Regions from separate parts of the Homo sapiens genome. Here region 2 is linked to region 1. Evidence: promoter capture Hi-C in human tissues and cell types (Jung and others, 2019). All regions are on one chromosome and are shown on one strand. The core of a region is centred on a gene start or on the middle of the fragment in contact, and the rest is flanking DNA. Distances in the headings are between cores, read along the strand shown.

What was found. Contacts are between HindIII fragments. The study calls those that stand out against the background at their distance.
Region 2: a fragment that was not itself captured here is called in contact with the fragment with the promoter of VHL in region 1 in 2 of the 25 tissues and cell types used here (dorsolateral prefrontal cortex and hippocampus).

The regions. Positions count from the first base shown.
Region 1 is chr3:10,139,387-10,143,027 of GRCh38, forward strand. VHL (von Hippel-Lindau tumor suppressor) reads left to right here and starts at 2,392. Exons shown (of 3, transcript NM_000551.4): 1 at 2,392-2,801. The coding sequence starts at 2,462. It also overlaps the pseudogene LOC124906359. RefSeq lists an enhancer at 3,309-3,641. The HindIII fragment of the contact is 25,425 bases long and covers 1-3,641 here.
Region 2 is chr3:9,864,321-9,867,645 of GRCh38, forward strand. It overlaps CIDEC (cell death inducing DFFA like effector c), which reads right to left. Exons shown (of 7, transcript NM_001321142.2): 7 at 2,394-2,976. The coding sequence ends at 2,814. Among named protein-coding and RNA genes, the nearest start is that of CIDEC, 14 kb to the right of the region's middle. RefSeq lists a silencer at 1-59. The HindIII fragment of the contact is 3,135 bases long and covers 1-2,882 here.

The sequences.
Region 1 (3,641 bases), core at 1,142-3,641:
TTCTCTACAGTGTTTTCATGTTGTTAATGTAGCTGGGGGTCCAGCATCACTGCTGGTCACTTAATCCTGCTGGAGGCCACCAGGATACACCATCTCTGTGCAGTGAGCTGTCAAGGAGAGCCCTAGGCAAAATTACTTAGGTTCATGGTGTCAGTGCTTTTGTGGAGATATCCAACTCCTGAGGTTCACTCATACTGTCATTTTCTCCTAAGGCATCAGGTGATGAGCCTCTCTGATCCAGCATTTTGACTACCCTTTTCACATTTTTTTTTTTTTCTGAGACAGAGTCTGGCTCTGTTGCCCAGGCTGGAGTGCAGTGGCATGATCACGGCTTACTGCAGCCTCAACCTCCCAGGCTCAAGTGATCCTCCTGCTTCAGCCTCCTGAGTAGCTGGGACTACAGGTGCACGCCACTATGCCTGGCTAATTCTTTCATTTTTTATAGAGACAGGACCTCGCTATGTTGCCCAGGCTGGTTCCAACTCCTGAACTCAAGTGATCCACCTGCCTTGGGCTCCCAAAATCTCGGGATTACAGGCGTATAGTGCTAGGCCTTCACATTCTTATATACCCTTCTGTTTCCTTAGCTGTGAAATGGAGATAATGACATAGCCTTAATTCACGTGGGATGCTTAGCACAGTGTCTGGCACTTGATAGATTTTTTTCTTTCTACTTGAAATTTATTTTTGAGCTGGGCACGGTGGCTCACACCTGTAATCCCAGCACTTGGGAAAACCAAGGCAGGCAGATTACCTGAGGTGAGGAGTTCAAGACCAGCCTGGCAAACATGGTGAAACCCCGTCTCTACTAAAAGTACAAAAATTACCTGGGTGTGGTGGCACACACCTGTAATCCCAGCTACTCCAGAGGCTGAGGCACGATAATCACTTGAACTCGGCAGATGGAGGTTGCAGTGAGCTGAGACTGAGCCACTGCACTCCAGCCTGGGTGATAAAGCGAGACTGTCTAAAAAAAAATTATTTTTAACTAATATAAAACTCTCTGAACCCTTCTTTTTCTGAGCTGCTTCTCCACTTGAGTCCATCCCACATCATTGAACATTTAATTACACAGAATTGTGTACCATCTTCCTTGACCCCCAGATCTTTAGCCTTCTATAGTACCCTGTCTCTTTTTGTCGTACTAGTCACAGTTGCACTTTTTTTTTTTTTTTTTTTGAGACAGAGTCTCATTCTGTCACCCAGGCTGCAGTGCAGTAGCACAATCTCAGCTCACTGCAACCTCCGCCTCCCGGGTTCAAGCAATTCTCCTGCCTCAGCCTCCTAAGTAGCTGGGATTACATGCGCGCACCACCACGCCAGGCTAATTTTTGTATTTTTAGTAGAGACGAGGTTTCACCATGTTGTCAGGCTGGTCTAGAACTCCTGACCTTGTGATCAGCCCACTTCAGCCTCCCAAAGTACTGGGATTACAGGCATGAGCCACTGCACCCGGCCATAGTTGCTATTTTATTTGTGTGATTGATTACCGTATGACGCTTTTATTGAAGTGCAGTGAAGGCAGGAAACATGACCGGTTTTTACAATATTTTCAACACTTATCACCATAGGTGGTACATAGTAGGGCCTTAATAAATATTTGTAAAATGAACAAAGTTAATGAGTGTTTATGTTTGTAGTTTTAATTGCTCTGAAGTAAATATCTGATTTTCCAATTTCCACCAGAGTGCTCTGCACATAGTAGGTCTAATTATTTTTCCCTCTTTACTAATCACCCATGCCTTGTAAGAATTCAGTTAGTTGACTTTTTGTACTTTATAAGCGTGATGATTGGGTGTTCCCGTGTGAGATGCGCCACCCTCGAACCTTGTTACGACGTCGGCACATTGCGCGTCTGACATGAAGAAAAAAAAAATTCAGTTAGTCCACCAGGCACAGTGGCTAAGGCCTGTAATCCCTGCACTTTGAGAGGCCAAGGCAGGAGGATCACTTGAACCCAGGAGTTCGAGACCAGCCTAGGCAACATAGCGAGACTCCGTTTCAAACAACAAATAAAAATAATTAGTCGGGCATGGTGGTGCGCGCCTACAGTACCAACTACTCGGGAGGCTGAGGCGAGACGATCGCTTGAGCCAGGGAGGTCAAGGCTGCAGTGAGCCAAGCTCGCGCCACTGCACTCCAGCCCGGGCGACAGAGTGAGACCCTGTCTCAAAAAAAAAAAAAACACCAAACCTTAGAGGGGCGAAAAAAAATTTTATAGTGGAAATACAGTAACGAGTTGGCCTAGCCTCGCCTCCGTTACAACGGCCTACGGTGCTGGAGGATCCTTCTGCGCACGCGCACAGCCTCCGGCCGGCTATTTCCGCGAGCGCGTTCCATCCTCTACCGAGCGCGCGCGAAGACTACGGAGGTCGACTCGGGAGCGCGCACGCAGCTCCGCCCCGCGTCCGACCCGCGGATCCCGCGGCGTCCGGCCCGGGTGGTCTGGATCGCGGAGGGAATGCCCCGGAGGGCGGAGAACTGGGACGAGGCCGAGGTAGGCGCGGAGGAGGCAGGCGTCGAAGAGTACGGCCCTGAAGAAGACGGCGGGGAGGAGTCGGGCGCCGAGGAGTCCGGCCCGGAAGAGTCCGGCCCGGAGGAACTGGGCGCCGAGGAGGAGATGGAGGCCGGGCGGCCGCGGCCCGTGCTGCGCTCGGTGAACTCGCGCGAGCCCTCCCAGGTCATCTTCTGCAATCGCAGTCCGCGCGTCGTGCTGCCCGTATGGCTCAACTTCGACGGCGAGCCGCAGCCCTACCCAACGCTGCCGCCTGGCACGGGCCGCCGCATCCACAGCTACCGAGGTACGGGCCCGGCGCTTAGGCCCGACCCAGCAGGGACGATAGCACGGTCTGAAGCCCCTCTACCGCCCCGGGGTCCATTTTGCAGACGGGGAACTGAGGCCCCTTGAGGCAGGACACATCCAGGGTGACGCTGCTCGTAAGCGTCAGAGCATTCTTTTTTTTTTTTTTTTTTTTCTGAGACGGAGTCTCGCTCTGTCGCCCAGGCTGGAGTGCAGTGGCGCGATCTCGACTCACTGCAGCCTCCGCCTCCCGGGTTCAAGCGATTCTCCTGCCTCAGCCTCCTGAGTAGCTGGGATTACAGGCGTGCGCCACCGCGCCCGGCTGATTTTTATATTTTTAGTAGAGACGGGGTTTCACCATGTTGGTCAGGCTGGTCTCGAACTGCTGACCTCGTGATCCGCCCGCCTCGGCCTCCCAAAGTGCTGGGCTTATGGGCATGAGCCTCCGCGCCCGGCCCAGAGCATTCTTTATAAGGCCGAATAGTTTGCATTTGAAGGTGGCTCCCCCCAGTCCCCCACCCCACGTGTATTTTCCCCTCAAAGAAAAGCTGCATCCTTAACACCCCATCTGTTCAGTCCTCATGACTCCAGTGGGCCAGTTCTGCGTAGTCCCTGCCCTCGTGGAGAACACATTCCTCCTGGGGAGACTGACAGATGCAAAGACAGGAACAAGCCAGGGTCATGTTGGCGCCGGAAGAGCCGACCGTGTGTGGCGTGGGAAATTGACTTACCTGCCTGCTGGGAGATGGAGGGGTTGCGGTTGTGTGGTTTCAGTTAAGGAGCACTTCCCGGAGAAGGAAGAGAGCAGGATGGAGTAGGAACTAGCCAACCCTAGGTAAGA
Region 2 (3,325 bases), core at 65-2,564, 280 kb before region 1:
GGAGGGGCTGGGACACAGTCCACCTTGACGACAGCTGCTCCTGGCTGTGCGGGGGGCCCCAGGAAAGGCCGTTCCCCCACTAGGACCGCCAGGCCCTACAGAGGCTCAAACTCCTTTGCTGTTTGGAATCTTCCCTCCCCAGCCCCCAAGCCTCATCAGAGGCTGCCTTTTCTGTTCACTGACCACAGCTGCTTTGACTCCATTAGCCTCGAGCTCCTGGAAGAAAAGAAAGAACCTTGTTTTCCCTGGGCTCAATGCCAAGAGACCATGGGCAGTTGCTCAAGATTCACTTGTGAAACTCCGGATCTCAGGAGGAGGGAAGCTTGGGACAAATACCGAGCCTCCCACCCCCACTCCAACTCTGTTACTGAGCACTTTACGGAAGGAGCAGGTAGGCCCCGCCACAGCTTCATCAAGGGTGGACTGGGATAGCTTCTGTGCTAATACAAACATCAGGCCTCCCTGCCAGACAGCCCACCCCATGGAGCCAGCCTGGCACCGGGCCAGCCTCCAGCCATAACTGCAAAAGAGCAGGAGAGCCCGGAATAGCAGGCCCTCTTCAGCGAGCTTCAGCCGCTTTGCCCATAGGCTGCAGGGTTTGGGTCCGCTGCCATAAATAGCTCCCAGACCATCTTTGGTAATATAGGCCTTTGCCTTAGTATTTACTACATCCAAATAGGCTTTATAGTAAGAGTAGTGAAACAATAGGTTTTGTTTTGTTTTTCGTTTTTTGTTTGTTTGTTTCTTTTTTGAGACGGAGTCTCACTCTGTCGTCCAGGCTAGAGTGCAATGGCACAATCTCGGCTCACTGCAACCTGCACCTCCCAGGTTCAAGCAATTCTCCTGCCTCAGCCCCCCGAGTAGCTGAGATTACAGGTGCCCACCACCATGCCCGGCCAATATTTTGTACTTTTAGTAGAGACGGGATTTGGCCATGTTGGCCAGGCTGCTCTCAAATGCCTGACCTTGTGATCCACCCGCCTTGGCCTCCCAAAGCGCTGGGATTACAGGCGTGAGCCACTGCGGCTGGCTGTGATAGAGTTTTTGAATCCTCTTTTTTTTTTTTCCCAGAGACAGGCTCTCACTCTGTTGCCCAGGCTGGAGTGCAGTGGCACAATCATAGCTCACTGCAGCCGCGACCTACTGGGCTCCAGTGAACCTCCTGCCTCAGGCTCCTGAGTAGCTGGGACTACAGCCACCATGCTCTGCTAATTTTTTTTTATTATCTAGTGTAGAGACAGGGTCTGGCTATGTTGCCCAGGCTGCTCTTGAACTCCTGGCCTCAAGCGATACTCCTGCCTCAGCCTCCCAAAGTGCCGGGATATCCGGCATGAGCCACTGCACCTGGCCAAGTTTTTAAATCTTTCAGTCACAGACTAAATAAAACAGTCACCTACAAGTTCTACAAGTTCAGCCTTTTTTTTTTTTTTTTGAGATGGAGTCTCGCTCTGTCACCCAGGCTGTAGTGCAGTGGCACGATCTTGGCTTACCACAACCTCTGCCTCCCAGGTTCAAGCGATTCTACTGCCTCAGCCTCCCAAACAGCTGGGAGTACAGGCGCCTGCCATGCTGGCCAGCTAATTTTTTTGTTTTTAATAGAAACCGGGTTTCACCATGTTGGTCAGGCTGGTCTTGAACTCCTGACCTCAGGTAATCTGCCTGGCTCGGCCTCCCAAAGTGCTGGGATTACGGCGTGAGCCACCATGCCCAGCCTAAGTTCAGCCTTTCATGCTTGTCTTGAGTTGTCCAATACTGGAAAATGCCAGCTCACACTGATGAGAAGCTCCTACTCTTTGGGGCTACCTATGAGCCCACTTTGAAATCCCGAGGTTGAAAGTCCTGAACATGAAAGATAAGCTGTCTGGCAAGTTAGGATGGGCATTGATGGAGAAATGCCTTACAGCTTGAGTAGTACTTTTTCACCTAACCACTTAAACGGTTATTATAAAATGGGACACTGAGAAATTAGAAGAGTGACTTAATCCCACCTGCTCAATTGAAGCTCCTCTGATAGGTGAATTTAATTAGGAAATTGTTACTTATGGTATCAATTACATGGTCAGCTCAAGCCTCAAATTCAGCTGACTTTAGTTTCAAAATCAACTGCAATTTTGTTTTTTAAGGAGCCTGGGGTCTTGCTATTGTGCTCCAGCCTGGCCTTGAACTCCTGGTCTCAAGGGATGCTTCCACCCCAGCTTGCTGAGTATCTGGGACTGCAGGCACGTGTCACTGTGCCCAGCTGTTTTTTTTTTTCTTCTTTGGTAGAAAAAGTGCCATTAGCTGTAATCCTACATTAAAGAGAATACTTTGACAATAGATTCGTCTCTTCCTTTAGCCCCCTCCAACCTTCCAGATAAAACCCCACCCCAAAGAACACAGGCAAAGAAGATACATCAGCCTCAATAATTTATTGCAAACTCCCTAATATCACATGCTAGTGCGCTTGCGAATTCACTCAGGAATGTTCCGGGATGGGGGCCAGAAGGTAGAGAGCACCATGAAAGTACAGCCTGCGAGGCCAGATTGCTAAGGGGCAGACTTCATGCCAATGGAGGGACAGACTTCAGGACCAGTCTGGATGGGCTAAGCTGCCTTGGGCAGGAAGGAGCTGGATCAGGCCAGGAGCTTGAGGTTCTCCTTTGGCCAACCCACCCCAGGTTTCCAGCTCCTCCTCCTCACTCAGGGTCCTGCGCGGTGAGGGAGGTGTGGGGAGGTTCGCGGCTCTACAGCTGCCAGGCTTGTGGGCACTACCAGTTAAGCGTGAGGCCCCCAGTCAGTCCTTCACTGGGGAAAGCTTCCAAGGACTTGGGCTTTCACTGCAGTATCTTCAGACAGGTCGGGATAAGGGATGAGGCCTTGCCCTTGGGGGGCTGCCCTTCCTCCGTAGCATCGAGGAGCTGCTGCAGGTAACAGGAGGTGCCAAGCAGTACGTGGCCTGTGGCCTGCATGCTGAAGAGGGCCCAGCGGAAAGCTTCCCTGGGTGGAATGAGAGGGCACGCAAGTCAAAACCACGAAGTAGGTCGGGCATGGCGTTCACGCCTGTAATCCTAGCACTTTGGGAGGCCATGGAGGGCGGGTAACCTGAGGTCAGGAGTTTGAGACTAGCATGGCCAACATGGCGAATCTCTGTCTCTACTAAAAATACAAAAACTAGGCAGGCATAGTGGTGGGTGACTGTAATCCCAGTTACTCCAGAGCCTGAGGCAGGAGAATCGCTTGAACCCAGGAGGCGGAGGTCACAGTGAGCCGAGGTGGCACCACTGCACTCCAGCCTGGGTGACAGAGCAAGATTCAGTCTCAAAAAACAATCAAACAAAAAACACAA